Regions from separate parts of the Homo sapiens genome. Here region 2 is linked to region 1. Evidence: promoter capture Hi-C in human tissues and cell types (Jung and others, 2019). All regions are on one chromosome and are shown on one strand. The core of a region is centred on a gene start or on the middle of the fragment in contact, and the rest is flanking DNA. Distances in the headings are between cores, read along the strand shown.

Region 1 (7,544 bases), core at 1,550-4,049:
GCTGGGGTCTTACTGTTCTCTGCTGCCTTCTTGATGCCAGCCTCGTCCTCTGGGGCATCTGGACTCAGCCCCATCAGGTCAAACCTTGGGAGTAGAGGCACTGGCAGCTATAGAAAACCCCAGCCAGCCCCCTGTGGCTCCCTCAGCCCAAGTGTCCTCGTCCCCCTGCCCACCCCCACTCCCAAACTCACCAGGAGGGCATCACCATCTTCATGTTGAGGGTCACAGGGATCCTAGGCCTGGGGAAAGAGAGCCAGAGGGCCCATCATGCTCAGGAGGAATGAGGAGGCCAGAGCTCAGAGCCCGGAGTGGGGCCGCGCCGCCCCTGGTGGCCCCTCCCAGCAGGCAGGGCCTGTGTTTAAGGTGTTGCCAGGCAACCTGCCACGTGGGGCTGGAGGCTGTGGTTGGGGCAAAGCGCCAGTAATGGAGAAGCAGAGCCCAGCGCTTGGTGTGACGGGGTCCCAGGTAGTCGGTGAGTACTTGGGGAAGGGGCAAAGGGAGGTGTGGGTTCTAGGAGAGCTCAGGTCTAGGAGGCCCTAGGGCTGGGGGCTGGTGCTGGACCCCACTCCTGGGGGCTCCACAGGAGCTCAGGCTGAAAATGCCACTTCTGACTGCCCTGAGCCCAAGCCCCAGGATGCAACTGACAGGAGAGAACAGGCCTGGGATGACAGGACCACCCCCAGATGATCCCCAGCCTCAGCCCCTCCCTTGCTGGGGTGACACTCACGCATGGGGACAGATGTACTTGACGTGAGGGAGCCGGATGGTGGAGAGGGCGTCAGCCCAGCTGTGCCTGTAGGAGGGACGGGAGAAAAGGCTCCGATGTGGTAGGAAGAGAAGGCCTCTCCAGTCCGCTGCTGGGCCAGGACCCCTCCTTAAGGAGCACCCCTCCTCAGTCACTTACCCTGTGTCTCCAAGTCCATGTAAAAAAATAACCTGGAAAAGGATGGGAAATGGGGAGACAGGAAGGCTTCCCCTAGGTCCTCCAACTTCTGCCCACCCCTCCCCCACCCCCAAGGACCTGGGGGAACCCAGGTAGCAGCCAAACAGGTTACTACCCCGAGCCTGCTGGCCTCAGGATACTCCCTGCTCATCACTGCCACCTCCATTTTCCCACACCCCCTCCAGCCGGTCCTCCAGCTGCTCCCACAGTGTCTGGCCGTGGGTGAAAGGGGACCCTTACCGCGGCCGTTTCCCGCTCAGCTCCAGACACGGTGGCAGCATCGGTGAGCAGGGGCACAGACATGGTGTTACCACACATACACCACACGGCTCCACGGCGGGGGCCTGCATACATCGGGGCGGCGGTCAAGAGCAAAACCAGGCACAGGACACACTCCTGGCCCAAGAGGCCACCAGGCCATCAGCCCCACACAGCACCCAGGTTCTGTCCTGGGCACAAAGAATAGTCAAGCAAGAAGTCCCAGGGCACAGGAGAAGAAGTCTGCCTCAGTTCCAGGGCTGAAAGGCAGAGACAGCCTCCCTAGTGGCCCAGAACATGTGTCTCTGGTTCTGGCCCAACCACAGGACCTGAGCTTGCTGGAGACAGGCAGAGGCAGGGCATAGGGACTGTAGGGCAGGGGGCAGAGGGGAGGCAGCGGCACGCCTGCTTCATTCCCCCTCTAACTCCTCAGGGGTGAGTGCCTTCCCCCTCCTCTCCAATCATCCCTGGGTCCCTGCCTCCCCAACTCCGGGCCCTATGGGAAATGGAGAGAAAAGTGCCAGGGAAAGGAGCTTCCATCCCCTACTCAGTGCCGCCTCCAACCCCCATCTCAACCTCCCCCCACCCAGCCCCCATCCAGCCTTCACAGCAGTTTCTGGCCCATCCATTCCCAGACCCCCAGGGGGCTGCCCATGTCCCCAGAAAGCGTAAGAACTCCACCCACCCCCAAACTGGTGCTCCACGCCCCCCCTAAACGGAGCTACCTGCTGCTGCTGCCACTGACTGCAAACGAGCCCTGGCTTGACCACGCTCTGGGACTCCCAAACACACAAAAGAATGTCAGGCTGGCTGGCCCCTCCCCATCCTCGGCGTCCTCCAAACTCGCCGGAAGCTTCCACTACCTGCCTCAAGTGCCTGCCCACCCCTCCCAACTGGCCTCACCTTCCATCTCTGACCCCTGAGGGCAGCTCCCCACAATGGGATCGTTCACCTGTGACCCGGGGTTCCTCTTCCCATGGGGAATGCACCTCCTGCCCTGAGCTGCGATTCCCTTCCTTCTCCACCGTGGGGACTTGCACCTCCCGCCCAGGCTCCCTCCTCGGAGGGGTGCCTTCCCCCTGACCTGTCTCTCTCTATACACCTTGAGAACTTCCACCCTGACCCAGGATCTCCCGCTCCCCACAATGGGAACTTCTGTTCTGACCAAAGGTCACCCTACCCAGTGAAATTTTCTACCCTGACCCAGGACTCCCACCTGCCCACAATAAAGCTTTGTACCTTTGACTCTGGGGAAGCCCCCGCCCCACAATGGGCTCTTCTATTTCCGACCCTGAAGTCTGTCTCTTTATACTCAGACACCCCCTTGCCTAGCCCCGCTCCACTCCCGAAGTCCCCAAGACTGGACAGCGCCTTCGCACCTCACTCCCCACCCCCATCCCCCCCATCACGGTTCCCCCTCCCCGCTCTCCGGGACCCTCCCGAGGCCGACCTCCCCCTACACGCCCATCCTCCGCAGCCGCCGGCTGGGTACCTCCACTCCCTGGGACTTCCGAGGCCGCTTGGGCGATTCTCCTCTTTCTCCCGCAGACACACTCTTCCCCCTCGGCCGCCCCCGCCGGAACTTCCGTTCGAGTCCCGGGAACCCAGCCATCGCGCTGCCGGAAGTAGCCTGGCCGACAGTACGGAACCCGGAAGCGGGGACCCGGCTTCGCTGGATAGAAGCTGCCATGTTGGAGGCGGCGGGGCTACTCCCTGTCATTCAGCCGCGCAGTCGCTGGGTTCTCACCCGCTCCCACCTTGTAGATTCGAGACAGGGCACCCAAGACTCCCACTTGCTACCACCACCCATGCGCCTCCTGGAGGAGGGCCGACCGGAAGGAGAGGCATCCCTCACACTATTGTTTGCATAAACTTTACCACCTTCCCATCCTCATGGGACACACCTCTTAAGGCCTCGGGTGTCTGCCACTGGCTTTCATGCCCTATTCCAGGATCATGAATGGAATGACACACTCTGAACCGAAGAGACCTTACAGATCATCTAGTTCTCCAGCCTTGAAGATGGGGAAACTGAGGCTCAAGGAAGGCATGTAAACAGCAACCTCGGGATTCCATTTAAATTCTGCCTCTCTGGATCTGCTTCCTGATATATAAAATGGTAATAACCACCCTGCCTCCTTCACAGCTTTGTTGGTAGGCTTAAATGAGGTTGTGTGAACATGGTTTATACAGTAAAATCACAGCGTGAGGTGTTAATCACGCAAAAAAGGACCTAGGAAAAATACAAAGGCCGTATCAGGAGAGCTGGACAGGCACTGGCAGTGTTAGCGCTGCCCTTCACAAGCAATGTCATGCAGACAGTGCACAAAACGCTGCCATCAAGCTGAAGTGGAAATAGGTATCAGGGACCACAGAAAAGTCAGAAGGCAGGCAAACTGAGTTGAAGGAGCATGTCCCTGAGAATGTGTGGGGATCTGCAAATAGGAAATGAGTCACACTTGACCCTCAGCCGCTTAGGACTCACTCTCCCAGCCTAACCTATACTAGTGTTTTCTTTGAACAGAAAGAAAACAGTACAGCCAGGCGCGGTGGCTCACTCCTGTAATCCCAGCACTTTGGGAGGCTGAGGCGGGCGGATCACGAGGTCAGGAGATCGAGACCATCCTGGCTAACACGGTGAAACCCTGTCTCTACTAAAAATACAAAAAATTAGCCTGGCGCTGTGGCGGGCGCCTGTAGTCCTAGCTACTCGGGGGGAGGCTGAGGCAGGAGAATGGCGTGAACCCGGGAGGCGGAGCTTGCAGTGAGCCAAGATAGTGCCACTACACTCCAGCCTGGGCAACAAAGCGAGACTCTGTCTCAAAAAAAAAAAAAAAAAAAAAAGAAAGAAAAGAAAAAGAAAACAGTACAAAGTTGGAAGCTCAACAAAGCACTTTCCCCCAGGCCCAGAGGCACTTTGGTCCTAAGTACTCAACAGGTCAGGGAGCCTACAATACCAGGATTCGGGGCAGGAAACCTTTGAGCCTATGGGACCACCACAAGCCAAGGACCCAGGACTGAATGTCAAAAGAAAATGGAGGGTAATGTCCCCACTTATGGAAGAATGAACAGTTCCTCCTGCAACCTCGATCACCTGAGACACCATGACACTTAAAACAAATTCTTCAGAGTGAAGCTTCAAATTCAGAGGCTCAGTCCCAGGAGCTGTGATTAATGCTTTAATTAGTGGAATTAGTGAAGGGCTAGTCTGCTCTAAGATTTTTAACTTTATTTTTCCCCCTACTCCAAATTTAAACATAGCCCTTCTTTTAACTCCAAAAAATGATCCAACTGAAATAAAGAGGCTGTGGCTGAGTGAATAGGACCCTTCATGCTTTTCAAGAACAGCATTTGCATTCTGGTTTATTTCAGGCTGCATTTTAGAAATTTTGAGGGCCAACAAGGTTTGGTGGTAGCAGACCTTTCCTAGGACAGGCTGGAGAAACAGTGGCTATATCCTCCAAACAACAGCATGGGCCAATGCCTCAGAGGAATTCTCCCAAAAGGATCAGATTCAACACTAATTCCCTTTATTACCTGTTCCTGTTTTCTGCAAGGGAGAGAATACTGACCATATCAAATCCCCTTTTTAGATACTTACATTCTCTTCAATTGCTAAACTGACTTTCAAAATTTAAGTCCAAAGTCTTTGGTCTACCTGGAGACCACATGAGCTGCTCAATTACTTTCCTCACCCTCATTTCTTCTGATGAGCTCCAAAATCTGTTCTCCCTTATTTTTGTAAATGTCATTCTACAAATCACTTCCTTTTGTGCAAAATGAAATATAGGGTTTTGTTGTTGTTGTTTTGAGACAAGGTCTCACTCTGTTGCCTCAGGCTGGGGTGCAGTGGCGCAATCATGGCTTACTGTAGCCTCGACCTCCTGGGCTCCAGTGATCCTCCCACCTCAGCCTCCCAAGTGGCTGGGACTACAGGTGCACGCCACCATGCCCAGTTAATTTCTGTGAAATACAGGTTTTCAACCCCACCTTCTTCTTTACTATATATGGGTGTAGGAGTGTTTTTGGCCTACTGTACAAAATTAAGCTTGACCATTCCTGGAGAAACTGATCCAGTCTTGATTTTTTTTTTTTTTTTTTTTGAGACGGAGTCTCACTCTGTCACCCAGGCTGGAGTGCAGTGGTGCAATCTCAGGTCACTGCAAGCTCCGCTTCCCGGGTTCATGCCATTCTCCTGCCTCAGCCTCCTGAGTAGCTGGGACTACAGGCTCCCGCCACCGCACCCGGCTAATTTTTTGTATTTTTGGTAGAGACGGTTTCACCGTGGTCTCGATCTCCTGACCTCGTGATCCGCCCACCTCGGCCTCCCAAAGTGCTGGGATTACAGGCGTGAGCCACCGCGCCCGGCTCCAGTCTTGATTTAATTGTGGCACTTCCTATAATCTACCTAGTCCAAAACAACAACAAAAAATTTCAAAGTTCAGTACAGTTCCCCATGAAATGAAAGTTGCATCAGTGGCTATCAAGAACTCAAAAGAAAATACAAACATTAAGTCTGGCAAGGATTTATTAGGAAGCTTATTAGTCACAGTGAATAAAAGCCATGAAAAGAAGAACTCAAATCTCCAAATTCTGGCATCGGACTTACAACACTAGTTAGAAGCTAATAAACATTAAGGAATTTCCAAGGGGAATCTTAACTAAGTCTCAATCTTACTGACCAGATTACCCACACACATAGAAATGATCCCCATGCTCTCCCCAGACTGCTTAGCTAGGCAGTGGAAAAGACCTTCTCCCCAAGCTTAAGCTATCACGCATCAGCAGGAGACTCCTGTCCTTCTAGCTATAACCACAGGACACATGTGCGTGACAGACAACTCCAAGCTGGGCAACTTGACAAGAATGCTGAACAATGAGAGGGGAAAGGAGCAAGCAGGAACAAGTGTTTTAGTTGGAGACCCTCCTGATGGCTACTACTAACACAATCCGGAGGCATCAGAAAGTTTCCTATAGCCCACAAATAGTTTCCTTTAAAAAAACAAAAACAAAAACAAAAAAACAAGTCACACAACAATCTTGCCACAAAGCAACATGACACTTGGAATCACATGGCCACATTAACTGGAAAAGCAAGTGTTACCCATGACTGCCAGATGCCACCCAGCCCAAGACCCAATTTCCACAGCGCCCTAGAGAACCACGATGGTCCCCTGGCACCTACACAACCCTCCCAGTGGTGTCGTATCTTCCGTAGGCCAGGTTTCTGCAGCAAGCCCCAAAGACAAAGCTTGGCAGAGGCTGTGGCAGCCAACTCTCTCTGGAGCCTCATCCCTTTGTCCTTCCCAACAGGTAGTCGTACATCTTCACTGACACAGCGCCTCTATGGGAGCCTTGGCCAGCCCTTAGGAAATAAAGTGTGTCTGTGGGGTAACCTGATGGACCCTATGGTCTGCTGGGTTGGCAGATGCTTCGTAATTGCAGATGGTCACCTCGTGTCGGCGAAGCTGCAAGAAAATTGAGGCTGGGTCAGCCAGCCATTAAAAGAACTGTCCTTTCCCACACCACACACATTGCGGTAGTCCTTATTCAGGTTCATTTCTAGGAGTCATCATTTAATATCTCCTTATTTTAATACTTAGATGTCATCATCTAATATCTCCCAATTTTGATACTTTTTAACTCCAGAAAGCTGCAAAGATCATTATCATTGATTCACCCTGTAACTTTGAAGATTCAGTCTCCCTACTATAATGGGGGTACCATGAGAATAGGAACTTGTCTATGGTATTATCTTATCCCTGGTTCATGAATAGAAAAGATTATCAAAAATACTCAATGAAAGCATTTGAAAGTAGAAAACTGTGAATTAATATAAATGACAATTTCAGGCTGGGCAAGGTGGCTCACACCTGTAATCCCAACATTTTGGGAGGCTGAGATGGGCAGATCACCTGAGGTCAGGAGTTCGAGACCAGCCTGGCCAACATGGTGAAACCCTGTCTCTACTAAAAATACAAAAAAATTAGCCAGGCGTGGGAGTGGGCACCTGTAATCCCAGCTACTTGGGGGGCTGAGGCAGGAGAATCACTTGAACCTGGGAGGCGGAGGTCGCAGTGAGCTGAGATATATATATATATATTATATATATTATTTATATAAAAATAACAGTTTCAACCCCCTTAAAAATACCTGTAGTTTCTCAAATGAGACGAAAAGTTTATACTGATAAAACCAAGAAAAATAATAAACTGGGAGTAATTATGACACTTGCTCTTTTCCCTTCCCTGGAAGCTCCCATCACCACAGTGTGCAGATATGTAGACATGAGGGGAAAACCTTTCCAACCCCATCTTACCTCAGTCCACTCTCCTCTCAGGCC
Region 2 (7,544 bases), core at 2,534-5,033, 240 kb before region 1:
TGGGAGGGCAAGGCAGGTGGATCACTTGAGGTCAGGAGTTCAAGAACAGCCTAGCCAAAATGGTGAAACCTCATCTCTACTAAAAATACATAAATTAACCACACGTGGTGGCGTGCACCTGTAATCCCAGCTACTAAGAAGGTTGAGGCAGGAGAATCACTTAAACCCAGGAGGTGGAGGTTGCAGTGAGCTAAGATTGTGCCATTGCACTCCAGCCTAGGTGACAGAGCAAGACTCTGTCTCAAAAAAAAAAAAAAAATTATGAAGCAGAAATCTATTTATTGACATGATGAGTAAACCTATAAAAAGATGCTTTTTATATGCTTATTGAAAATCAAAGAAATATATATTTAAACCTAAAGATATGTAATTTCTGAGATTATCTGTAGTAAAAAAAATCTAAGCCAGGCACAGTGGCTCATGCCCATAATCCCAACATTTTGGGAGGCTGAGGTGGGAGGATCACTTGAGCCTGGGAATTTGAAATCAGCCTGGGCAACATAGCAAGATGACGTCGCTACAAAAAAAAAAATTAACTAGGGATGGTGGTGCACACCTGTAGTCTAGCTACTTGGGAGGCTGAGGTAGGAGGATCACAGAGCCCAGAGGTCAAGGCTGAAGTGGGCTATGATCATGCCACTGCACTCCAGCTTGAGCAATAGAGCAAGATCCTGACTCAAAAAAAAAAATAAACAAAAATTTGAAAATAAGCCAGGTGTGGTGGCACATGCCTGTAGTCCCAGCTACTCGGGAAGCTGAGGCAGGAGAATCACTTGAACCTGGGAGGCAGAGGTTGCAGTGAGCTGAGATCGTGCCACTGCATTCCAGCCTGGGTCTCAGAGCGAGACTCTGTTTCAAAAAAACAAACAAAAAGCTTTATTTAGGGCTGGGTGCCATGGCTCATGCCTGCAGTCCCAGCACTTTGGGAGGCTGAGGTGGGCAAATTACCTGAGGTCAGGCATTTGAGATAAGCCAGGCGGATCACAAGGTCAGGCATTTGAGACCAGCCTGGACGACATGGTGAAAACCCACCTCTACTTAAAAAAAAAAAAAAAAAAAAAAAAAGGCCGGGCGTGGTGGCTCACACCTGTAATTCCAGCACTTTGGGAAGCCAAGGCGGGCGGATCACAAGGTCAGGAGTTCGAGACCAGCCTGGCCAACATGGGGAAACCCCACCTCTACTGAAAATACAAAAATTAGCTGGGCGTGGTGGCAGGCGCCTATAATCCCAACTACTCGGGAGGCTGAGGCAGGAGAATCGCTTGAAACCAGAAGGCAGAGGTTGCAGTGAGCCAAGATCATGCCTCTGCATGCCAGCCTGGGCAACGAGAGCAAAACTCTGTCTCAAAAAAATAAATAAAAAATAAGGCCAGGCGTGGTGGCTCACATCTGTAATCCCAGCACTTTGGGAGGCTGAGGCAGGTGGATCACCTGAGGTCAAGAGTTCGAGACCAGCCTGACCAACATGGTGAAACCCCATCTATACTAAAAATACAAAAAGTAGCCGGGACTGGTGGCGCATACCTGTAATCCCAGATACTCGGGAGGCTGATGCAGGAGAATCGCTTGAACTCAGGAGGCAGAGGTTGCAGTGAGCTGAGATCACTCCATTGCACTCCAGCCTGGGCAACAAGAGCAAAACTCCATTTCAAAAAAATAAAATATAGGAACCACCTAAATGCCCATCAATTGGGGAATGGTTGAATAAATTATGGTACACCCATACTATGGAACAGTACAAAGATATTTTAAAATAAAATAGATCTAGGCCATGAGCGGTGGCTCATGCCTGTAATCCCAGCACTTTGGGAGGCCAAGGCAGGGGGATCACCTGAGGTCAGGAATTCAAGACCAGCCTGGCCAACATGGCAAAACCCCGTCTCTACTAAAAGTACGAAAATTAGCCAAGTGTGGTGGCGCACACCTGTAATCCCAGCTATTCTGGAGGCTGAGGCAGGGAGAATCACTTGAACCTGGGAGGCGGAGGTTACAGTGAGCTGAGATCGAGCCATTGCACTCCAGCCTGGGTGACAGAGCGAGACTCCATCTCAAAAAATAAATAAATAAAATAGATCTATTTATATATTTACAAGGAAAAGTATCTACTATATACAGCGAATTATTTTTAAAGCCTCTGAATAACATGTATAGACAAGCTTCTCCCCTTACATTTCAATGTCTACAGTCACAGAAAAAAAGAATGTCAACTCTTCCCTCCACCAACAGATGGCATTAGCTATAATGAATGGTCTTTGTGAACTACATACAATTCAACAATGTTGCTGTTCTTGTGTCCAAGTAATGTTTCACATATTATCAACCCCATAGTAGCCAAAGAAGAATAAAGCCAGGGAGAATTCTGAACATGCAAACAATTGTATAAGAAACAAACATAGAAATAATATTTACTTTGTGGAGGAGATTGCCACAGTGGGAACAGATGGAGATCTCACTCTGTCACCCAGCCTGGAGTGCAGTGGCACAATCATGGCTCACTGCACCCTTGAACTCCTAGGCTCAAGCAATCCTCCCACCTCAGCCTCCTGAAGAAGCTATAAGCGGGTACCATCACACCCGGCTAATTTTATTATTAATTTTGTAGAGACAGAGTCTCACTGTGTTGCCCAAGCTGGTCTTGAACTCCTGGCCTCAAATGATCCTCTGGCTTCAGCTTCGCAAAGCACTGGGATTATAGGCATGAGCTACTGTACCCGGCCAGGAACAGTTTTAAAGGACAAAAAAAGGCCGGGCACCGTAACTCACGCCTGTAATCCCAGTACTTTGGGAGGCCGAGGCAGGGGGACTGCCTGAAGTCAAGAGTTTGAGACTAGTCTGGCCAACATGGTGAAACCCCATCTCTACTAAAAATGCAAAAAAAATTAACCAGACCTGTTGGCATGCGACTGTAATCCCAGCTACTCGAGAGGCTGAGGCAGGGGAATTGCTTGAACCAGGGAGGCGGAGGTTGCAGCGAACCGAGATAGCACCACTGCCCTCCAGCCTGGGTGACAGAGCAAGACTCCATCTCTAATAAATAAATAAATAAATGGACAAAAAGATAAAGCATGTAGCACAGGAAAAGAAGAAGGAAAACAGAATGATAAAATGGAAAAAAAAATCAGTTTATGGCTAAATAATCAGAATCAAATTGGACCTCTATCAGCTTATTTGTCTGGAAATAAGTAGTGAGGAAGAGTCAAAGTTTAGGCCTGAATTTAGATCAGCCCTCATGAATTCAAGGAGACAGAGGGATATGAGCCCCAGAACCAAAAGCCCCCCTTCACCCCAGGTCACCCCAGGAACTGTGGCTGCTTCCCTTTGCCTGCCACTCCTCCGAGCAGCTCCACTGCCTAAGGTTCCACCTCAACCTCTTAGAAAGAAGAGACCCTGAGATCAAGTAGTCTTGCTACATTGATCCCACAGCCTGGGGGTTGGAGAAGAAGGAAGAGTGACAGATGTTCCTGCTTGCTTCACCCTTGCAGAGCTTTTGTATTGCCAGTGTCAGTCACCCCACAAATACTTAATCCTGAAGAAAGTGAAGGTTTGTCCTAAAAGAACTCCAGCAAAAGGCAAGGCAGAACCAAACCAAACCAAACAGGTCCTGGTCAAACAGGCAGTTTTCCAAATATATCCAAAAAATCTAAATATGTCAATACATTTTTAAAAACTAGCTGGGCGCGGTGGCTCACGCCTGTAATCCCAGCACTTTGGGAGGCTGAGGCAGGCGAATCACAAGGTCAGGTGTTCGAGACCAGCCTGGCCAACATGGTGAAACCCCATCTCTACTAAAAACAGAAAAAAATTAGCCAGGCATAGTGGCGGGCGCCTGTAATCTCAGCTACTCAGCAGGCTGAGGCAAGAGAATAGCTTGAACCTGGGATGCGAAGGTTGCAGTGAGCCGAGATCACTCCACTGCACTCCAGCCTGGGCAACAGAACAAGACTCCATCTCAAAACAAAAACAAAAACAAAAACAAAAAAACAGAAACACTTTCTTCCAGACCGTCCACCATCCCCACCACAGCCCTCTACCCCAGGCACAACTACCTACCTCCCAGACACAGGTTTAAGACAGCCTCAATCTGGCTGAGTGAATTGACTCACACCTATATAGTCCCAGCACTTTGGGAGGTCAAGGCGGGAGGATCACTTGAGCCCAGGAGTTCGAGACTAGCCTGGGCAACATAGAGAGATCTTGTCTTTACAAATAAAAAAATTTTAAAAATGGTTTTTTTTTTAATAGCGCGGTGGCTCACGCCTGTAATCCTAGCACTTTGGGAGGCCGAGGTGGGCAGATTGCCAGAGCTCAGGAGTTCAAGACCAGCCTGGACAATATGGTGAAACCCTGTCTCTACTAAAAATACAAAAATGTAGCCAGACATGGTGGCACAAGCCTGTAGTCCCAGCTACTCAGGAGGCTGAGGTGTGAGAATCGCTTGAACCCGGGAGATGGAAGTGAGCCTAGATCGCGCCACTTCACTCCATCCTGGGTGACAGCGAGACTCTGTCTCCAAAAAAAAAAAAAAAAAAAATAGCCAGGCATGGTGGTGCACACCTGTAATCCCAGCTACTCAGGAGGTTGAGGCAAAAAGGATTGCTGAAGCCCAGGAGGTTGAGGCTGCCGTGAACCGTGTCTGTGCCACTGCACTGTAGCCTGAGCAACAGAGTAAGATTCTGTCTCTAAAAAGAAAAAGGAAGAAAGAAAAGACAGCTTCAATCAGAGAGGAAGTAGAGGCAAACAGAAGAAGGATGGCCTCATTTTGATTTTCTGTTGGTTCTGGAATCTGCTTCCCTCTGGCTTCCACAGTTTCTCCCCGGTTGACTTTCAGGAAAGGAGGTAGCAATCCAAACCAGTTCATCATCTAAAATTTGGGGGCTCACTGCTTCTTTTAAAATTAAGGTTGAAGTATAATTTACATACAGAAAAATGCACAGGACTTGAGTGTACAGTTTGATGAGTTTTGACAAACATATGCAACAGTGAAACCAATATCCTCAACAAGATTTAGGCCATTTTAATCAACCCAAACGTTTCCTCCATGCCACACACCAGTCAATCCCCTTCAGAGGCAACCATTGTTCTAATTTTCACAACCACAAATTAGTTTCTACCTGTTCTCACACTTCATATGAAAGGAATCACTCAGTATTGCTCTCTTGTATCTTGCTTCTTTCACTCAATCTTTTTTTTTTTTTTTTTAAACAGGGTCTCACTCTAGTGCCCAGGCTGGAGTACAGTGGCGTGATCTCGGCTCACTGCAACCTCCGCCTCCCGGGTTCAAGTGATTCTCCTGCCTCAGCCTCCCAAGTAGCTGGGATTACAGGTGCCCACCACCATGACCGGCTAATTTTTATATTTTTAGTAGAGACGGGGTTTCACCACGTTGGCCAGGCTGGTCTTGAACTCCTGACGTCAGGTGATCTGCCCTCCTCGGCCTCCCAAAGTGCTGGAATTATAGGTGTGAGCTACCACGCCCAGCCTAAATCCTAAAAGTATTTTAAAATCTAAAAATATGGGAGGCCAAGGCAGGTGGATCACTTGAGCCTATTAGTTCAAGACTAGCCTGGGCAATGTAGTAAGACCTCATCTGTGCTAAAAAAAAAAAAAAAAAATTTAACTTTTTAAAAAATGGCAAGTAACACTGGTGTCTGTAAAAAGAAGAAATCTAAAAATAAAAAAGTTTACTTTCAAAGAAAGGTTGGAGGTGGCTAAACAGATCTAGCTAAAGCCTTTGTGTCAGGTAAGTACCATTTGCTTCTGGGGAACCCCAATTCTTTTAGCATGTACCCCACTCCACTTATCTGGAAAAAAATCTGGAGCAACAATGCTTGACCTCAACCCAAAGTTATAGAAGGAAACATAATTGACTTCAAATAATATAGCAAACTTTAAGTCCACATATAAAAATTGACTGTTGTCCAGACACAGTGGCTGACGCCTATAATCTCAGCACTTTGGGAGGCCGAGGTAGGAGGGTCACTTGAGTCTACAAGTTTCAGACCAGCCTGGGCAACATAGCAAGACCCTATCTCAACAAAATTTTTTTTTTTAATTAAGCGAGTATGGTGGGGGGAGCCTGCAGTCCCAGCTACTTGGGAGGCTGAAGTAGGTGTATTGCATGAGCGCAGGAGGTCAAAGCTACAGTGAGTTGTGATCATGCCACTGCACTTCAGCCTGGGCAACAAAGCAAAGACCTTGTTTCAAATTTTTTTTTTTGAGACAGAGTCTCGCTCTGTCGCCCAGGCTGGAGTGCAGTGGCATGATCTTGGCTCACTGCAAGCTCTGCCTCCCAGGTTCACACCATTCTCCTGCCTCAGCCTCCCAAGTAGCTGGGACTACAGGTGCCCACCAACACACCCAGCTAATTTTTTCTATTTTTTAGTAGAGACGGGGTTTCACCGTGTTAGCCAGGATGGTCTCCATCTCCTGACCTCATGATCCACCCACCTCGGCCTCCCAAAGTGCTGGGATTACAGGCGTGAGCCTCCGTGCCCGGCCTCAAAATATTTATATAAATTTACTGTCACTCAAAATCTAGGTTTGAAATTCACTCTTGGTCACTAAAGGGGCAGGTGCAGAGTTTTTCTGTCCTGGGTCCTCAGCCTCGTGCCCCATTTCTAGCTCTCTTCCCTGCCCCTCTGCCACCCCACTCCTACCCCCACATGGGACTGCTGCTGTGGAATATGCTTTCTCAATTTCCCAAAAGTCTGAGGTCATCCAAAGAGCCCCCTTACTTACTTAGCAAGTACAGGAGAAGCCTTGCAAATCATTTTTTATTTGCTAGAATTTTCTTTTCACCATTTTTTTCTCCTCTCAAAAGGAAACTTTCCATCCTGCAGGAAGAAGACAAAATAATTATCTCATTCACGTGGTCAATGATAATGACTGTGATAAATGGTCCCAATAAAGAGATTCTTGGGTGAACAGGGATCTCCAAGCATTGCCACGATAGTACACAGAGAGTTTTATCTGTGGTTTATGTACACAAATAAGTTCTGATTGACAGAAAGACTGTGGACTCAACAGCTGACATGTAAAAGGGCAGGATGAGGCCAGGCGTGGTGGCTCATGCCTGTAATCCCAGCACTTTGGGAGGCCGAGGCGGGCAGATCACCTGAGGTCAGGAATTCAAGACCAGCCTGACCAACATGGTGAAACCCCATCACTACTAAAAACACAAAATTAAGCAGGTGTGGTGGCGCATGTCTATGAGCCCAGCTACTTGGGAGGCTGAGGCAGGAGAATCACTTGAACCCAGGAGGCTGAGGTTGCAGTGAGCTGAGATCACACCATTGCACTCCAGCCTGGGCTACAAGGTGAAACTCTATCTCAAAAAAAGAAAAAAAAAAGAGCAGGATGCCAAATGAGCAGGATGCCTCCTTTCTGGGTCTCCTGCCCCCCTTGTATGTCTGCAGGACTACTCGGGGAGGTGACTCCCATGCTCTCTGCCCACATCAATTTGCTTCAGGCTGTACACTTGGCTGTCTCTCTTGGACAAAAACCACCATGTGCCCCAGTTGTGGTCCCTAATATATCCTCAATGC

What was found. The method cuts DNA at HindIII sites, captures the fragments that hold promoters and counts their contacts. A contact is called where the count stands out against the background at its distance.
Region 2: a contact is called between a fragment that was not itself captured here and the fragment with the promoter of LYPLA2 in region 1, in 1 of the 25 tissues and cell types used here (bladder).

What each region holds. Positions count from the first base shown.
Region 1 is chr1:23,786,400-23,793,943 of GRCh38, reverse strand. LYPLA2 (lysophospholipase 2) reads right to left here and starts at 2,799. Exons shown (of 10, transcript NM_007260.3): 1 at 2,694-2,799; 2 at 1,184-1,287; 3 at 905-936; 4 at 728-793; 5 at 192-239; 6 at 14-84. The coding sequence starts at 1,261. LOC105376860 (a long non-coding RNA gene) reads left to right here and starts at 412. Exons shown (of 2, transcript XR_947067.3): 1 at 412-472; 2 at 3,154-3,330. It overlaps PITHD1 (PITH domain containing 1), which reads right to left. Exons shown (of 6, transcript NM_020362.5): 5 at 7,521-7,544; 6 at 5,712-6,669. The coding sequence ends at 6,568. RefSeq lists a silencer at 2,562-2,621. The HindIII fragment of the contact is 2,550 bases long and covers 2,244-4,793 here.
Region 2 is chr1:24,022,956-24,030,499 of GRCh38, reverse strand. LOC105376863 (a long non-coding RNA gene) reads right to left here. Exons shown (of 3, transcript XR_947072.3): 2 at 6,739-6,833; 3 at 1,525-1,622. Among named protein-coding and RNA genes, the nearest start is that of MYOM3-AS1, 40 kb to the left of the region's middle. The HindIII fragment of the contact is 4,536 bases long and covers 1,516-6,051 here.